6 separate regions of the Homo sapiens genome follow, and regions 2, 3, 4, 5 and 6 are each linked to region 1. Evidence: promoter capture Hi-C in 16 types of primary human blood cells and fetal thymus (Javierre and others, 2016). All regions are on one chromosome and are shown on one strand. Each heading gives the region's core, a stretch centred on a gene start or on the middle of the fragment in contact. The rest is flanking DNA. Distances are from core to core; before and after follow the strand shown. Region 1 holds the start of HRNR (hornerin). Region 2 has its middle 42 kb from the start of CRNN. Region 3 has its middle 10 kb from the start of CRNN. Region 4 has its middle 8.5 kb from the start of CRNN. Region 5 has its middle 18 kb from the start of TCHHL1. Region 6 holds the start of TCHHL1 (trichohyalin like 1).

Region 1 (2,999 bases), core at 249-2,748:
TTGAAACTCAGGAGTCTGATATAAGGTCCCAAATATCTAAGCTATCAAATCTAGACCTGACAGTTTTAAGGTGGTGGACACATTCTTTTGTGATTCAGGAGTAAATGCCAATTTCCTGAACTCAGAAATCTACTTCACAGTTTTTCTGAGGACTGTCTGGGTTTGTAGGAATTAGTCACTTAGATAGGACATTATTTAACCTGTGGGTTTTGTTTGTTGTTTAGTAAGGTCACTTCCGTTAGTTATGCTATGGAAACCATCACGGATCTGCTTTTGACCTTATCTCAAACTTTTACCAAACCCTGTTCTCTCTCACCAAGTAAGGACAATCCTCTAGGATGTTTGACATATGTGACAAGAAGGTGGAAAGGGATAAAGAAGAAAATTCCTGCATAACTCCATCCTGGCGTGGAGTTCTTACCTTCAGAATTTGATGAAACTCATTTTCCAGAAGTTCTTTCAGCTCTGCCTTGTTCAACGTATCATACTCCCCATGCTGGGTGGCATATTGGTAGAAAACATCGATGACAGTGATGACGCCTTGTAGGAGTTTAGGCATTTTTTTTTTTGCAAGTTTGAGTAACCTAAAGGGAGGAAAAAGAGAGACCAACCCCTTACTATTCTTATTTCTTGTTTAAACACATAAATAGTTCTAATTATTTATAATAATTGTTCAGAATTAGTCAGTCATGATTAAATTCATTCTGTTGTAATCAAGAACCAATTCAGAGTTGAATGACTTGTTCAAGCCATGTAGCAAGAGAGTGATGAAATTAGGAATATAATCCATAGGTCTTATTTCCATTCCTGAATGAATGTAGGAAAAATGACTTTCTGTTTTTGGCTTCCTGCCATTACCAGGGATAATATTAGCTTTGTTCTGGAGCTGTAGAAGTCCTGAGTGTTCCACTTCATCTGCTTCCTCTTTCTAGGTTCGAAGCATACTGTGGGCATAGGTCCATCATCTACATGACATGCCTTACTCAACCTAAGGAGCATCAATGGCTGAACTGAACTCTCAAGACTTCTAGGTCAGAGAAAATAGACAATGTGAGCAAAGCCAACAAGCCTAGGTGATATGAAGCTAAGGGTAACTGCTATTAGATCCAGCTTCTGTTCTCATTCTCCAAGCAGGAAGTGACCCTCAGACCTTATTACACAATAGAGAGGAAAAGCTCAGTTGTAAAGAAGGCAACCTGCCTGTGGATAATTAGAACCCCATGATATCCATGTTATAAGGGAAGCGACCTCAAAGAAAGGAGATAATATACATAGTCCTAGTCTTTGTTTCATTTTTCTTTTCAGTAAATTTAAACTTATACCAAAGTTCCCCAGAGTATACTAAAAAGAAGCCTTGTATCTAGTGCCTCTTTGCCTTAGAGCACATCCTGGACTTTCATAATTTATAGCCCTAAGTACCCTTGAGCGGAGTTGAACTGCTCACTTACCTAGCTCACCAGAGGAACAAGTAGGGTAGAGACAGAAACAGCTTTCAGGGTGCTGCGAGTTGGGCAGAGTGGCCTTTTTATAGAGGGAATAATGGTCCCTCTTAGGGAGGAGTTGCTAATTTTGAGATGTCCTAATTTACTCCTAAACAAGCCCATCTCCACCTCTATCTCCACCTCCCAGGTGTTTACCTTCTTCCTGACTTCCTTACAGGTTCACCTAAGATTGCATTAGCAGTTCCCAAATCTGGGCTACTCTCAGCCCCACCTGCCAAAGGGTCAGGACACTGCAGAAAGGCCTGTTTTTGTATTCATCAAACTATCTAGCACAATATATTGACAACAAATTGTGTGGATTTTAATAGAAGTTGAATGGAGTGTGTGCAGGGACATCATGGCCCAAATGTCAAAAAATCATGGAAATTGATGATTAAAAGGACTGTAAAGATCATCTAGTCAAACTCTCCCATTCTAAGCTAAATGTTCTTAAATGGTATTCCAGCCAAAGTGTCATCTTTGGTATTGTTATTACCTTTTGAATTGGATAATGGCTCCAGGCCATCCTTTAACTCATTAAGTACCTCAATTTACCAGACCCCTTATTGGCCATTCATCACCATAGCTTTCATTTCAAACACCATATAACCTTAGGAAGAAATGCGTGCTTGTTAGCATGGTATCCATGGTTCCTCATGATCTGGGCTGTGGCTTTTTTCCAGCTCCATTTCTCCCCTCCATATTTCTCTTTGTACTCCAACAGTAATTAACTAGTAATATTTCAAACTTCCTCAATATACCATGGGATATGTTATTTCATATTTTTTCTTAGAATGTCTTTCCTCATTGTCTGCCTAGTGAACTAATTATTCTTCAAAATCCAATTTAGGCTTCCCATAGAAAATCTTTCCTGAATTACTCAAGAGGGAGTTGTAATTGTGTACCTTATTCATATTTATTGTTGTATCAATCATACTATATTGTAATCTTTAAAAATTGTTTTACTATACAATTATTGTTTAATATAAAAATTAGAAAATATTGATAAGCAAATAAGATAAAATCAAAATACCTTTAAAGCCACTAGCCAAAAATAACTACTGTTAGTTATTTGTTGTATATCCTTGCCTTTCACAAACACACACATTCACACACAGACACACACATTTGTCTATGGGCTTATTTCATTTCTAGGCTATGAGCTCCTTGAGAATAAGGAATGGACATTATTTATCCTTATGTCATTTGGAGACCTAGTATACTGCTTGTCACATAACGGTCTCCAATAAATGTCAGTTTGAATTCATTTGAAAGAGAAGCAAGGATCAAGACTATAGTCCTCTGCATTGGCCAACTTCCATCTTTTCACAGGAGGACTAGGGTCTGCCCTCTCTCTTGCCATCTTTGCCTCAGAGGACATGATTTTACCTGAATATAAACGGAATCTTAGCATTGAGAATCAATGAGTGGCTTTCTGCTTTTTTCTGAGGCCCTCGCTCTGCATTTCTTCCATTGTGAACATATAACACAAATTTCACTGAAGGTGTGTGAAGTTAC
Region 2 (2,999 bases), core at 145-2,644, 230 kb after region 1:
AAATTATGATGTTTTCTACTCTAGCTGTTAGGAACAGGGGTTCTTCCTAACTCGGGGTGATCCTGGGATTATTCGCTTTCATTCCTGCAGGGAGGTCCATCCTCTGCCTCAGGTAGTTTCCTCACATACAGGTGCTGATCATAACTCAGCTAAGGATCTGAGGGGAGGCTGTTCCTGATTGTCAGGGCTCCCCTGCCCCCTTCTCTCTCTAGCTCTTGCCTTGCTAGGTGAAGGGGTGGCCTGCCCCTCCACACCTGTGGGTGTTTCTCGTCTGGTGGGACGAGAGACTGAGAAAAGAAAGAGACACAGAGACAAAGCATAGAGAAAGAAAAGTGGGCCCAGGGGACCGGGCGCTCAGTATACGGAGGACCCGCGCCGGCACTGGTCTCTGAGTTCCCTCAGTATTTATTGATCATTATCTCTACCATCTCAGAGAGGGGGATGTGGCAGGACAATAGGGTAATAGTGGGGAGAAGGTCAGCAGGAAAACATGTGACAAATGTCTCTGTGTCATAAACAAGGTTAAGAAAAAGGTGCTGTGCTTTGATGTGCCAATACATAAACATCTTGGTGCATTAAAGAGCAGTATTGCCACCAGCATGTCTCACCTCCAGCCATAAGGTGGTTTTCTCCTGTCTCAGTAGATGGAACATACAATTGGGTTTTACACCGAGACATTCCATTGCCCAGGGATGAGCAGGAGACAGATGCCTTCCTCAGAGTTATCTCAACTGCAAAGAGGCCTTCCTCTTTTACTAATCCTCCTCAGCACAGACCCTTTACGGGTGTTGGGCTGGGGGATGGTTAGGTCTTTCCCCTCCCATGAGGCCATATCCCAGGCTATCACTTGGGGAGAAACCTTGGACAATATGTGGCTTTCCTAGGCAGAGGTCCCTGCGGCCTTCCGCAGTGTATTGTGTCCCTGGGTACTTGAGATTAGAGAGTAGTGATGACTTTTAACAAGCATACTGCCTTCAAGCACTTGTTTAACAAAGCACATCCTGCATAGCCCTAAATCCATTAAACCTTGAGTTAACACATCACAGGTCTCTGCAAGCACAGGGTTGGGGCTAGGGTTACAGATTAACAGCATCTCAAGGCAGAAGAATTTTTCTTAGTACACAACAAAATGGAGTCTCTTATGTCTACTTCTTTCTACATAGACACAGTAACAGTCTGATCTCTCTTTCTTTTCCCCACAGCTAGGCTAGTAGTCTGTCTTGAAAACTCTAGCTGCCTTGGTCTTTTAGGATCCAGTTCCATTTATTCAATCCTGAGAGTCCACTGGACTCTGCCAGTTTCCGCTCCCTGAGTCACAGCCTGGAAACCCTTTGCCGGGAGGAGGCCAGGACAGTCCTAGGGTTCAGCTCATTTTGTTTCATCTTGCAAACATCATGGTCCTGCATTGCTTCAGGTTCATGGTCTTGAAAACTATTGTTCTTTTTATATAGCCATTCCTTGGTATTCACGAGGGATTTGTTCCAAGACCCTTGAAGATGCCAAAATCTGGAGATGCTCAAATCCCTCACGTAAAATGGCAAGATATTTGCATATAACCTATGCACATCCTCCTGTAGACATGAAAACATCTCTAGATTACTTATAATACCTAATATAATGTAAATGCTATGTAAATGGTTGTTATACTGTATTTTTAAATTGTATTTTTATTGTATTTTTTCAAATGTTTTTGATCCATGGTTGGTTGAATCCATGGATGTAGAAGTCAAGTATAAGGAAGGCCAACTATAGCTTGTCAGATTATGTAGTTGTTTCAGGTTACAGGATAAATCCATCCCTGTAACTCCATTCCCATTGGAAGAGGAAATTTCCACTTTATATTTTTGCTAGCATAATACCATTTTTTCTGGTATTTTTCAAAATCACAACCTAACATTGTAATTCTAAAGTATTTAGAGTTATACATCTGTTTAAAATTTCAAATTGGATGAACATGCAATCTCCCCACTAAGACAGGCATTTGCCTTTGTCTGGGTGAGGCTGACCATTGTCTTTTGTGTTTAGCAGTTCCTTATAATCCCTCCATAACCAGCCTGGGTCTCTCTCCACTTCCAGAAGCCTTGACAGACTGTTTTAGAACTGGAGAGATGAGGAGTGGGGGTGAGATGCTAAGAACACACAGGAGAGGGTATGGCAGGAAGGAGGACAAAAGGGCAGGAGTTCCTAGGGCCAAGTCCCACCACTCTTCACCCCCAGCCTGACCACCTCCCTCCCCTCCGGGGCACACATCTCTCTGCTCCTCTTTACAGAGCCTCTTTATTTAACATGTCATGTGGTTCTGGTATCACAGTCACTACTCTTGTTGTGTGGAAGGGCAGAATCTCAGGGGCCCAGGACAGAATAGAAGACTGTTGGTGAGGCAGGACTTAGTCCCTTAGGGAGTTACCAGGCCAGCCCTGCCCCATGCTGTGGCAATCACAGGAGTGTGTGATACAGAGTGCTTGGAGAATAGGACCAGACCACACTTGACAAAATGGTGCCTATGGGGGTGCAACAATAACATGGCATTTTAGGAAGAGGTGGACAGGACAATGAGTTGCTTTGGGGGCTTTGGTCTTGTACACCATGCCTAGGTTCTGAGAGGGCAACTGTACCTTGCAGAATGACTGCCATCTGCCAGGCACAGTGCTAGGCTTTTTACAACCATTACGCCAGTCATTCCTTATGTCAACCTTATGTGGTGTGCATTGTCCTTTTACATTTCACATCTGAAGACAATTAGACTCAAAGGGTTTCAGATAGTTACTCGATGGGACTGGCACTCCAGAGTCTGCGAGGGCAGAGAAGTTTGCTGGGAGACTGAGAGAGTGCTCATGGGATATTGTGGTATGGGAGGAGCTGGAGCCCTATGTTCTTGGCTGGACAAAGCCCTGTTGTGCTCATTTTGGAGATGGCAGGTGGGACCAATCCCATCACAGCAGCTGCCTCAGCAGGGAGATGCCCTGCAAGGGTGAGGTGTGGCCTAGGCAAGGTGTAGG
Region 3 (2,999 bases), core at 234-2,733, 200 kb after region 1:
TGGCTGTGTTCAACAGGTGTTGCTCGTGACAGTTGGGGTCCTCCTCAGAGTCAGTCTTGACATGGCTGCAACCAGGTGTTCCTCGGGAACCTCCCAGAATATCTTCCTCAAATAATTCACCTTTTAATCTTGGATACCAAAACTCCCTGGAAGGGATGGGTGCTTTGATTAATGGAGAAAGAACTAGGTAAAAACTGACCAACCCCAGTGGAGACCTGTGCCAACAAAGTAGCTTTATGCAGATTACCTACAATACCGTCACAGGCCTTGATATAATCAACTAAATGTGCTTTCCCTCTAATAAGTTGCAGAGCAGCCTGGCAATCAGGATTAGCATTGTTGAACGCTAATAACCATAACACTATATCCAGAGCAGCCGAATCTGCAATCACCTTTTTAAGAGACTCCTGTAACTGAGCTATAAAATCCACACATGGCGTTATTTTGGTCCCTGTTTTACAGCACTAAAGGAAGGGTATTTTTCTCCACCAGAAGTTATTTTTTCCCAAGCTCTAATGCACACTCCTCTAAGCTGTTCTATGGCATCATCCTGCATGACCACTTGTGCATCTAAACCAGCCCAGCCACCAACCCCCAAAAGTTGGTCTGCAGTTATATTAATTTGAGGTTGGGCCTGGGTGTTGTGAGCAGCCTGAATGGAAGCTTCATCTGCCCACCAAGTTTTAAATTGTAAGAACTGAGCAGGAGTTAGATAAGCTCGAGTAAGAGTGTCCAAGTCAGTAGGAATCATCTGACTAGAAACAGCAACATTCTTTAAAAGTCCCATTACAAAAGGAGAACCTGGTGCATATTGAATAATAACTTGTTTAAATTCTTTGAGTAATTTAAAAGGAAAAGGTTCAAATGTAGCAGGAGCATGTCCTTAAGGTACAGATCTGGGGGGTGTATTCTAACAGGGAATTGTCAAGCCTCTAAATCACCTTCTCGTCTAGCTTGCTGAATTCCTGCCTGAATAGAACTGAGAACGGTTGCTCGAGGCGCTGCTCGAACAGTCACTGGGGCAACTACTTTTTGCCTAGTGTCCTCCAGAAAAGAAAGATCTGGAGGGTCAGGCCACTCTTTTTCTTCAAAATAATAATGAGGGGGCGCAAAAGGGTAGGGCTGAACCTCTCTCTCCTTTGCTGCTTTAGCTTTAGCTGGCAAACAAACCTGCTCTGTAACCTCTTCTGTTACTTCGTTATACTCTCCTTCCTCCTCATCTTTAGTGTGAAAAGGTTCCAAGGTGGAACAACCCAGAGCCCACACTTATCCCATGGTTACCCTGATGCTTCCTAGCTCCCCTTCTTACTCACCACGGGGATTGCTTTAAGAGTACTTGGGTGTCCTCCAGCTTAGTTCCACGTTTTCCAACTGTCACTCCGGCGACCCTTCAACCTGGGTTTGAGGCCCCATGTTGGGCTCCACTTGCTGAGACCAGCTCAGTCAGGGAGACCCTAACCCAGTGGCACTAGAGGAATTAAAGACACACACACACAGAAATATAGAGTTGTGAAGTGGGAAATCAGGGGTCTCACAGCCTTCAGAGCTGAGAGCCTTGAACAGAGATTTACCCACGTATTTATTAACAGCAAGCCAGGCCAGTGATAAGCATTGTTTCTATAGATTATAGATTAACTAAAGGTATTCCTTATGGGAAATAAAGGGATGGGCCAAAATAAAGGGATGGGTCTGGCTAGTTATCTGCAGCAGGAGCATATCCTTAAGGCATGGATGGCTCATGCTATTGTTTGTGGTTTAAGAATGCCTTTAAGCAGTTTTCCACCCTGGGTGGGCCAGGTATTCCTTGCCCTCATTCCAGTAAACCCACAACCTTCCAGCATGGGTGTCATGGACATCATGAACATGTCACAGTGCTGCAGAGATTTTGTTTATGGCCAGTTTTGGGGCCAGTTTATGGCCATATTTTGGGGGCCTATTCCCAACAGTGGCTTCTCTGGGTGCCCAGTCTTTCCATGTGAGTGCTAAGAACCTGATTTCTATCCCCTTTCCTGAATTGAAGTCTTCAGGTGCTTGGTAGCCTTATTGTACAGGTTCCACAAATCCATGTGCCTGCCAACCATTGCTGCATATGGAATACATATCTGACACTATGTGTGTACTATTACTTTTCAGACATAGGCTTGTGAAGTGGCAGCAGTGGCCAAGACACAAGTCACTTTTCTCCAGGGTGGGCTTGACAACTAGGTCTGAGACACTGACTACCAAAAGGAGCTGGTTGCAAGCAAGGCCTGGAAGTCTGGATGGTGACAGTGCCTGGCTCACAGAGGCCAAGATCCATCAGCTAAAGCTTCACTCCAGGCTTAGCAAAATTCAGGTGAAATGGATGTCCTGACAAGGAGCATTAGGGGACACTGCAGAGGAGGTGCTGAGGAGTCCAACAAGGTCTGGATGAGACTGTTAGTCCTACACAGTCAGTTCATTTACTGATGAAGAGATGGAGGCTTGGCTTGAGGCTCAGCAGCTGTGGATGGTGCAAAGATTATGTGCCAGGCTGGGCATGGTGGCTCACACCTGTAATCCCAGCACTTTGGGAGGCCGAGGCAGGCAGATCACCTGAGGTCAGGAGTTCAAGACCAGCCTGGCCAACATGGTAAAACCCCATCTCTACTTATAAAATACAAAAAAATTAGCCGAGCGAGGTGGCAGATGCCTGTAATCTCAGCTACTTGGTAGGCTGAAGCAGGAGAATCAGCTGAACCCGGGAGGCAGAGGTTGCAATGAGCAGAGACTGTGCCATTGCACAAGAGTGAAACTCCGTCTCAAAAAAAAAAAAAAAAGACTGCGTGCCCACCATGGTGCTGAGGTGACTCCCGCACATGACACCTTTACTTCTCATACCCTGAAAAGTTCTTCTTCTTCTTCCCATATTTCACAGGCGGAACTTGAGTTTCAAAGAGGTGAAATGACATGTCCAAAGTCACACTGACAACTGTGCAGGGAGATAATGAGGTAAGAGGCAGGCAGGACTTGTCTCTGGA
Region 4 (2,999 bases), core at 315-2,814, 180 kb after region 1:
AACAGGGGTTTAGGGCCCCTCTCTTAGGCCTCTGGGCTCTGAACTACTTTGAGAGAACATCCTTCTTGAGTCATAGACACATCTGTCAAACCTTAACTGTTGAAAGGAATGGTCACTCATAATCTTCCTATTCTTGCAAGGTCCTAGGAACATGGATGCTGAGATGGTGTCTTCTCCATATTTTCATGGCCAGACTTCCTGTTAAGGCTGGAGGTGAGAAGTGGAAGGACCACTTTCTACGGCTTCCTCCCCAGCCCCTTTGGATGGATCTTCATACACTCTGGTGCCCTTTCTTATCTGTGAGGTTTGACCTGACACTGAGTTGAGAGTCCGAGGACCTGGGTTTAGTCCTATTTCTGCCTCTTTCTTTCTAACTGCATAACTTTTGACAACACTAAAGAAACTCCATTTTCTTATTTGCTATGAGCTTGATTATGTCTATGTTTCCACAGTCACATGTCTGTGTAGGGATTATGTTAATTTATGTATGTGACAGGAAAGATTAGGATATTCAATTCCTTTAACAAATAATTATTGAATGCTAGGCACTACTTCAGACACCAAAGCAACAGCAGGAACAAAACAGGCACATGTAGTATTGCTGAACTGTACCAAATTCCTCTCCACTGAGGCTCATTTTGCATTCCCACCAGAAGGTGTGAAAATGCCTGCTTTACCTCATCATCATCTATTCTCAAACTTGTAGATTTTTGTCAAGCTGATAGTGAGAATGGTATCTCAAACTAGTATAGTTTTGGTTTATGCTTCTAGTATTACAAACAAGCTTTAGCATCTTTTCATATATTTAAGCATCATTTGTATTTTTTGTGAGCTATCTGTTTGTATCTTTTGCCCATTCTTATTTCTTATTTTGTGTGTTTGTGCCTTCTTACCCCACCTTTTTCACTCTTTTCAAAATTAGGTTGGTTTTTCTACTTGTTGATTCCAAAAAAAAAAAAAAAGAGGATTATCTATTCATTTACTTACTTATTTAGTTGTTGACTGTTTTGTGAACTTATACTTTTATTAATTTTTATGGGGAATTCATGTAGCTGTGTTCTACAGATCCTTATATGTCTAGTTTAATTATCATTTTCTAAAAATTCTGCAATTTCATTTTATTTTCAGTTCCTTTTATTCAACAGTTTTAAAATAATATGTGTGTGTGTGTTTATATATATGTTTTTAATTTCCAACAACAACACAGATTTGGTAAAATCCATCACTATTACATGTTCTTTTAAGAATGCTATTTGTGGCCAGGGGCAATGGTTCATGCCTTTAGTCTCAGCACTTTGGGAGGCTCAGGAGGGCGGATCACTTGAGCTCAGGAGTTTGAGACCAGCCTGGGAAACATGGCAAAACTCCCTCTCCACAAAAAATACAAAAATTAGCCAGGTGTGGTGGCAAGGGCCTGTAATCCCAGCTACTCGGGAGGCTGAGGCAGGAGAATTGCTTGAACCTGGGAGCTGGAGGCAGCAGTGAGCTGAGATCATACCACTGCACTCCAGCCTGGGTGACAGAGTGAGACCCTGTCTCAAAAAGAAAAGAAAGAGAGAGAGAGAGAGAGAGAAAAAGAGAGAGTGAGAGAAAGAGAGAGAGAGCGAGAGAGACACAAGCAAGCAAGCAAGAAAGAAAGAAAGAAAGAAAGGAAGAAAAGAAGGAAAAGAAAAAGAAAGAAAGAAATAATTCTATTATTATTATTATTATTATTGAGACAGGGTCTCCATCTGTCACCTAGGCTGGAATGCAGTAGCACAATCTCAGCTCACTGCAACCTCTGCCTCCTGGGCTCAAGCGATTCTCTTTCCTTAGCCTCCTGAGTATCTGGGACTATAGGCATGTGCCATCATGCCCAACTAATTTTTGTATTTTTCTTTTTGTTGAAATGGTATCTCATTATGTTGCCCAGGCTGGTCTTGAACTCCTGAGCTCAAGCAATCTGCCCGCCTCAGCCTCCCAAAGTGCTGGGATTACAGGCATGAGCCACCACACCTGGGCCTATTTCTATTTTTGAATAATGCATTGAAGTTTTCTTTGTGACCTGATATTGAATATTTCATGTGTAGACGGTATAGTTTTTTCTTGTTAGGTTAATACATTGCTGGACTATATGTCTGTAGAGTTCTTTATATCTTATTGAATGTACTGTTTCTTCTCTACACTTACTGTCTTGAGCTGAGAGAGATGATTAAAGTGCCCTATTATTACTATGTTATTTTCTTTAAGTTTTTCCTTGTATCTCTTATAGTTTCTGTGTCATCAGAGTTGTGCTACATTATTGAATGCATAGATATTAAAAACCATTATATCTTCATTGTGAAATTATAGCATTTGGCATTTTAAAGCTTCCTTCTTAGTCTTATTTAATGCCTTTTGATCTAATCTGGGATCAAGATCATGACTCCTGATTTCTAAATTTTGTTTTAACCTGCATTTTCCTGATATATATTAACTCAACCACCCTGTTTACAAATTGTTTTCTGACTCTCTTTGATTTGCACACCTCTTGTAAGGAGCATAGACTTGTATAGAGCTAATATGCAACTTGTTCATCTAGTAGTGAGTTAAGCTCTTGACATTATTGTTATAAATATGTTTGACCTCAGTCTATCACGCTCTTTTATGTCCTATTTATGAAAATATGTATCTTTTACATAAATAACATCATCCACTCTGTTATCTGTGTTATTTGCTTTTTTCTAGAATGTCTTTTGGTGTTGAGGAAGGTTTGTATTTGTGTTGTTATCTTATAGTACATCTTTATGTAATATGTATTCTGTATTCCCCCTTCCCTTTAATAAATGGCATATTCACTCTCCACTCTAAGTAATGATGGAATTTTCTGGAAATTTTCACCTTACCCTCCTTCTTCCTTTCTCAGTATCTAATGTGAAGTGATATCCTTTCACTCCCAGTTTTTCCTTGTAAGCATATGCTTATATTAAGACAATCAGGGAGCTCATTCTACTTTCTGTATGCTTTCTCTTTCTCCCTTC
Region 5 (2,999 bases), core at 268-2,767, 150 kb before region 1:
CTAAATCTTTTTTACATCTAATTTGGTTTGTTTGTTTTTAAGTCTCCCACATGACTTCTAAAATTGTATGTAATAAAGACACTTTGAGCTTTTCCTGATGTCTGTAATAAAAATATAAAATGTCTTCTCTTCAGTTTCTCTCCTGAACATCCCCATGGCCCTGGGGAGTTTATTTTTCTAGAATGTCTAAAGTGTATTATTTATTCAAAACAAAACAAAACAAAACAAAATAGTTTCTATGAGGAAATATTCTAGATACTTGACTCAATAATATTTCATTATTTTTGAATTTGTGTAGGAAACTCTTTCTTGCCCGTATTCAGACAGCCCAAGGCATGGGTGACTACTGAAGGAGGAGGAGGCAGGTCTTTCTCCCTGTGTGTCTAAAGGGCAGGAGCCTGATGAACTGGCTCCGTGTGGTCATTAGTTGCCGTTAGAGTGATTAATAAGAGTAACAGAGATAATTATAATTCTTGCTTTGAAAAGCCTTGCTTTTGAGAGGAATTATCCTTGTGCAAATGTCTCCCCACCCTCTTGGTAAATCGTCTTTGGCAGCCAGACCTGTAGCTTCTGGGTTTGCCTGTGGTCTCCGGGCTGCTGTTGCTGACACACCTGGTCTGCTGCCCGTCTCTCCTGAGTTTGGCTCATCTGATTCCTGGGCCTTCTTGCTTTTCTCCACTCTTTCTCATTTTCTGATGGTCTCTCTCTGTTCTCTTTTCCGTCTTCCTTTTGTCTTCCCCCCTTTCAACATTTCAATCTCTTTCTGTTTCTCATTGTCCCTTTCTTTGTGTGCCTTTTCTTACCTCTGTCTCTTCTACCTCTCTATTCCCACCCCATTTGTTTCAGACCTGAAGTCTCCATTCAGTTTGATCTTCCCTTTCGTTCTTTTACCTAAAAATTTATTAGTTTCTATCAGGGAAAATAAAAGACAAGTAGATTGAAAATGAATGCATCCAGTTCTTGCTATGAGAAGGGAAAGAGACGCTTACTGTGTGTCCACACCAGGCGATAGCCTGCCATAGTCACACAATGGGGAGGCCTGCTTGGTGCCAGGGCCCATGCTTACCACCCACACTGCCTGTACAAACAGGACATTTTCTGACCCAGAGTCCATGTGCAATGGTGACAGAATGACTTCTGTGGTGACACTCTTCTGATGACGTGGTCTTTGCCCCTCAGCGTCAAGGTTTGTCTTGACACTGCCTGGGAGGAGTTTCCTGGAAAGTGTCCACAGCCATGATTACAGATAAGAGGAGACTGCCAGAGTCATTTGAAGGCATCAAGTTGTCTGTAGGAGAAGCTTGGTGATTGGAGGAGTTGCTGCTGGGGTGGCTATCCTGAGTGCACATTTGGACTTTGCCTGCTCTGTGACCTCAGGCATCTTACCAAATCCCTCTGAGCCTCAGCAGTGGGATCTAGTGGTCACCATTTCTTGGATGTGTCATAAGGATACGGTGTGGCTCAGGGAAGCACTGGATTATAATGTGTTTTAAGCTCATTCTGAAGAAAAGCACCGTGCAAATCCCAGTTATTATGTTTATTATGAGGTTCAGCATGATTAAATGCAAAGAATTTGTTCCATCTGAATGAGGCTTTTAAAAATACACTGGGGCCAGTAATTACAGAAATGTAGGCTCCCCTAAACATGTTCCCAATTAGGAAGGGATGTAACTGAATGAACTGGGGCATGGCGGGGGACTCTCAGATCCTTGACATGTTCTTGGTCAGCTCAGTCAAGCTTTTCTTGATCAGAAAATGGAAAAAAGCAGAAAATTCTCATCCCTTGTGTCTTTCTTAGAAGAAGATAATAAACCCAGTGGCCAAAGAATGTTAACATTTAACTGATTTTCCTTATGTATCAGGACCTTTTTCTGAAACTATGATTGTTAAGGATTTTAAGTAAGACCCAAATCAGTATGGGGTATGATTTTCTTGTTTGTGATTAAAACATATGGAAGTAATTATAGATCTCAAAGTAATTTTTATTTATACACAAATAATACATACGTTCCTGATCCTTGAAAAAATTGAAACATTACTTGATGACATCTAAGACTTCTTTGACTACTACTGTCTCTCCTGATTCCCTTTTACTTTTCTCAGAGGCAATGACCATTATCAGTTTGGTGTTTTTCTTTCTGAGCTTTTCCGTCTTTAGAAGTAGAGAAAACCAAGGTGGACATGGTACGCAAGTCTCCACATGGTTTTCTTCTGTGGTTTAGCCTCATCTCCTGGGCCAGATCATATGCTTCTTGAGACCAGAAACCACATGAACTCCTTGATCTGATTCCACACCACTCCCAGGCCTGGAATAGAATCATGGAGAAGTGAGGGGAATGGTGAGGAACAGTTAACTAAACGCTTGTTTGAGAAAAATTATTGTCCTGCAGTTTACTCAAATAGAGCTAGTAACTCGGCTGGGCAAGTTTCAGATTCTGTGTTTCAAAACCACCTCAACCCACCCAGTGGAAACCAGAATATTCTCATGGCTTTACAAAAACGCCTGAGCTTTAAGCTTGATCTAAAGGGCTCAGCAAAGAAGCATTGCTCCTGAGAGGCTTCCTGTCTGCCTCAAGCTCCCTGTCTCAGCCTCCAGGTAGCCTCATCCTCATGCTCCACTTGCCCAGACATGGACCTCAAAGAAACTCCTGTCCACCTTCTTGGGGGTCCCTTCAGGGGTAGTTGTGTGTCATCAGCCACCCTCAGAGTTGGCTCTGAAACATTCCCCGGTTTCTCCTTCAGTGGTTTGTGGAGGTCAGGAAGAAATGCATGTGATATTTTCTGAAGGTTCTGGACAATCCTAATGTTGTCATGAAGCCTGCTGGCCCCTTTAGGCAACATACACACCCAGACATATATCGATAGTGATGGAAGAATTCCATCTTTTCTTCAAATTCTCTTCTCTATTTTTACTTTCTTTCCTTAAAATGGTGCCTAGGATGGGTCCTTGTGGAAAGGACAGTGCTGGGGTTGCAACTCCTATCTCAGTGCTTTGACAA
Region 6 (2,999 bases), core at 245-2,744, 140 kb before region 1:
ACTGCTGGTCTTTTTTGATCCTGCCATTGGCTTATTTGTCTTAAGTTGGCCTTCATTGTCTTCTGTTGTTTGTATATCTTGAGCCACTTCCTGACTTTGTTCATCTCCTTCCAGGTGTTTGTTCTTAGGATCATTGTGTTCAGATGCTTCTCCTGGAAAGTTGTGAGTCTTGGCTTCTCTCCATGGGTCCACTCTGTTATTTCCAACTGCTCCACTTTCTTCAGGGATGAGCTGAGATGATGATGCCATTCCTGAAGGAAGCATCCTCTTTTCTTGAGTTGGTGAAGTTCCCACTGTCCACTGACCATCTCCGGTGGTTGCCTGAACATCCACATCATCTAGCTTCTCCTTCTCTGGTTTAGTCACCTGTCTTAGTTCAGAACTTAGTAATGATTTTATGTCAAGATAACAGAGGTTCAACAAGTTGAAGATTGCAAGAACAAATTCATCAAAACTGATGATGCCATTACTGTCAATATTCAGAAGATTTGAATTTTTTTCCACAGCATGAAGGACACAGGGCTGCATGAAAACACAGTGAGAAATCAGCTTATTTATATGTGGTCCAGTGTCCTAAGTGTCTCCCAAGAATCCTATTTTTCTGACCTCATTCCTCAGTAACTGGTTAACTTTCCCAGAACAGCAAGAACTTATTGGTTCTGCAAGCCATTTTTCATCAGAGAGCTATGCCTGAGAAAGAGCATTTACAACACTTGTGAGTTGCATTTTGATGCATAATGGTTTATGACTCCTTTCAGAAGTCAGCTTTGCAGAAGCAATAATCCCAGTGACGAAAACCTCTTTTTCTCTAAGTAATTGCACAGAGTATGGAACTGAGACTGAAAATAGTTGTTCAAGAGACAGTGAGTGCTGAGAACTGTTAGCTAGGTGTAAAATGGATGGGGATCACATATGCTCATCTTGCTTGGATTATAAAGAAAGGGTGAGTTGGAAAGAATTTACACAGCTCTGTGAGAAGCTCACCTGAAAAAAGTCCCCAAACTCGCCCTGGATGAGTTGTTTCAGCTCTCTGCCAGTCAGTGTTGCCCCGTTACTGTCCTCACTGGCATATTTGTGGAATGTCTCAATTACACAGAGGACATTTCTCAGGAGCTGAGGCATCTTTACAAACTCAGGAGAGGCTGTGAGAAAGAATAAACAAAGCTCATTTTCCAGGATGGGTCCTTCAGGGAGGAGATACCAAGATTATCCTTTTTGTTCCTCCCCCATCTCCACTGCAACCCCTGCTCTATTCTGTATCTTAAAATATTATATCTGAACTCCAGGGGTGATTTAGTATTGTACCAGACATTGTGGTGAAATCAGACCCAGCATAGGTAAGTATTAGAAGAGACAATTCACCCCACTCTTCAGTAAACAGCAACATTCATGTGCTCAGAGAAAGCTTCATTGCAAAAGGAAGGTGATAAGAGAACTCAAGCATAAGGATTGAAATGCATAAATGAAGCCAATAGAGTTGGACCCATTCTTCCAGCCTCATCCAAGAGTGTCTATCTGCTCTCCTCTCCCTTTGGCTCAGTCTAGCCTCCTGCGGTTAGGAGGGTATAACCTTTAAAGTTAGCAAAGCTTCTAGTGGAAAGATAAGTCACACCAAGAAAATTAACCCCTATGTTTGCAGGTGGTAACAACATGCTTTAACCAAGAAGACATGATTCCATGTCCCGACCCCTTATTCATTCATTTCCCATCCTTTAAATGCTTCTACATTTTCATTGCAATAGAGATCTGATCCTGTGCCTTGTTGAATAATATTCATGCCTATGACTTCTAAACAATTTATGTTTTTTTTAAAAAGAAAATGATCAAAGAAGTTCCATAATCAAGGAATGCATTTGGGTGGTTGGCGCTCCCAGTTTATTATTATTAATAGGGGTTGACATAGACTTAAAGTGTGTTTCCTTTGAAATCCTCTTGCAATCTCACATATAAGCAAAACAGCAACTGAAATCCCAAGTATGCTCAAGCAGATGGACTTACCTAGTTCACAAGCGAGAGCAGGTAGAACGTGGGGCAGCGGGCTGTGAGCTGACAGCAGGAGCTGGAACCTTTTATTGAGGTCCTAATTGCACAGTTAAGAAGGAGACACCCTCTGGGTCTAATGACCTGACATCACCACCAAATCCAGTCTCCCCTGCTCTGTTGTCAGTTGTCTTAATTTTATTTCCTTCTTTAGGCAGTTTCAATTAAATCTTAGCTTCAGATGCATCAAAAGAAAGGGGAGGGGGTTTCTTGATTCATTTACTGACTTTTGCAGATTATAGTTTTGAAGGCTCTTCAAGGTAGTGTTGGCTTCCCTCCCCCATTTTTTAACCTAAGGACATAATTACATTTCTGTCTGACAAATCATAGTGCTGGCAGGGACCTCATAAGTCATCTGATTCCTCTGTCTGCCCACAAGATGGCCCGTATTTGACCCAAACCTGAGAGATGGGTGTCAATCATGTGTTTAAAAATAAAGGCCCCCATTTAGCCATGTGACAAAAGTGGAGATACCAGTTGATTCAGATGTTTCAATGCTTTGCTCTCCTTGCCCAGAGGCAGAGTTAGAAAAAAAAAAAAATTCTTGCTTGGTGTGCAAAGCCTTGCTTACCTATGTTGTGCTATTTTAAAAACGTGATTGATATTTGCTTTCTAAAGACATTTTTACTATACAAGGAGCTTGAAACCAATAATCTATATTACTGTGTTCTCCCTGTAAAGGGGAAAGGGAGATGTTGAAATCATCAAGCTGAGAACAGAAGTGAGTCTGAGATGCTGAACTGGCAAACATTTTAATTGTCTCCTAGATCTGGGTCCTTCTTAGTAGAGAATATTTAATAAAATAAGAATTAGATTCAATGGTTTTCTTAGATATTTTTAAAAAATAGAGTATGTTTTAAAACACTCCTTGTCAAAGGATGGAAGAAATAGACAGATCAATGCAAACAAATATAAAAGACACAGACCAAGTTAAAGATGGGGTGGGAATGGGGGTAATT

What was found. The method cuts DNA at HindIII sites, captures the fragments that hold promoters and counts their contacts. A CHiCAGO score of 5 or more calls a contact.
Region 2: a contact is called between a fragment that was not itself captured here and the fragment with the promoter of HRNR in region 1, in 15 of 17 cell types (total CD4 T cells, naive CD8 T cells, naive CD4 T cells and 12 more). The highest score is 12.1, in total CD4 T cells.
Region 3: a contact is called between a fragment that was not itself captured here and the fragment with the promoter of HRNR in region 1, in 4 of 17 cell types (naive CD8 T cells, total CD8 T cells, total CD4 T cells and 1 more). The highest score is 7.0, in naive CD8 T cells.
Region 4: a contact is called between a fragment that was not itself captured here and the fragment with the promoter of HRNR in region 1, in 2 of 17 cell types (total CD8 T cells and total CD4 T cells). The highest score is 6.0, in total CD8 T cells.
Region 5: a contact is called between a fragment that was not itself captured here and the fragment with the promoter of HRNR in region 1, in 1 of 17 cell types (total CD8 T cells). The highest score is 5.0, in total CD8 T cells.
Region 6: a fragment that was not itself captured here is called in contact with the fragment with the promoter of HRNR in region 1 in 6 of 17 cell types (total CD8 T cells, naive CD8 T cells, naive CD4 T cells and 3 more); the score reaches 7.0 in total CD8 T cells.

The regions. Positions count from the first base shown.
Region 1 is chr1:152,222,695-152,225,693 of GRCh38, forward strand. It overlaps HRNR (hornerin), which reads right to left and starts at 1,499. Exons shown (of 3, transcript NM_001009931.3): 1 at 1,449-1,499; 2 at 422-584. The coding sequence starts at 559. The region is part of intron 1 of CCDST (cervical cancer associated DHX9 suppressive transcript); the gene reads left to right. The HindIII fragment of the contact is 14,241 bases long and covers 1-2,999 here.
Region 2 is chr1:152,454,881-152,457,879 of GRCh38, forward strand. No RefSeq gene overlaps it. Among named protein-coding and RNA genes, the nearest start is that of CRNN, 42 kb to the left of the region's middle. The HindIII fragment of the contact is 3,652 bases long and covers 1-2,999 here.
Region 3 is chr1:152,422,743-152,425,741 of GRCh38, forward strand. No RefSeq gene overlaps it. Among named protein-coding and RNA genes, the nearest start is that of CRNN, 10 kb to the left of the region's middle. The HindIII fragment of the contact is 1,645 bases long and covers 662-2,306 here.
Region 4 is chr1:152,404,290-152,407,288 of GRCh38, forward strand. No RefSeq gene overlaps it. Among named protein-coding and RNA genes, the nearest start is that of CRNN, 8.5 kb to the right of the region's middle. The HindIII fragment of the contact is 1,564 bases long and covers 783-2,346 here.
Region 5 is chr1:152,070,050-152,073,048 of GRCh38, forward strand. No RefSeq gene overlaps it. Among named protein-coding and RNA genes, the nearest start is that of TCHHL1, 18 kb to the right of the region's middle. The HindIII fragment of the contact is 438 bases long and covers 1,299-1,736 here.
Region 6 is chr1:152,087,022-152,090,020 of GRCh38, forward strand. TCHHL1 (trichohyalin like 1) reads right to left here and starts at 2,043. Exons shown (of 3, transcript NM_001008536.2): 1 at 1,999-2,043; 2 at 985-1,142; 3 at 1-522. The coding sequence starts at 1,122. The HindIII fragment of the contact is 182 bases long and covers 1,404-1,585 here.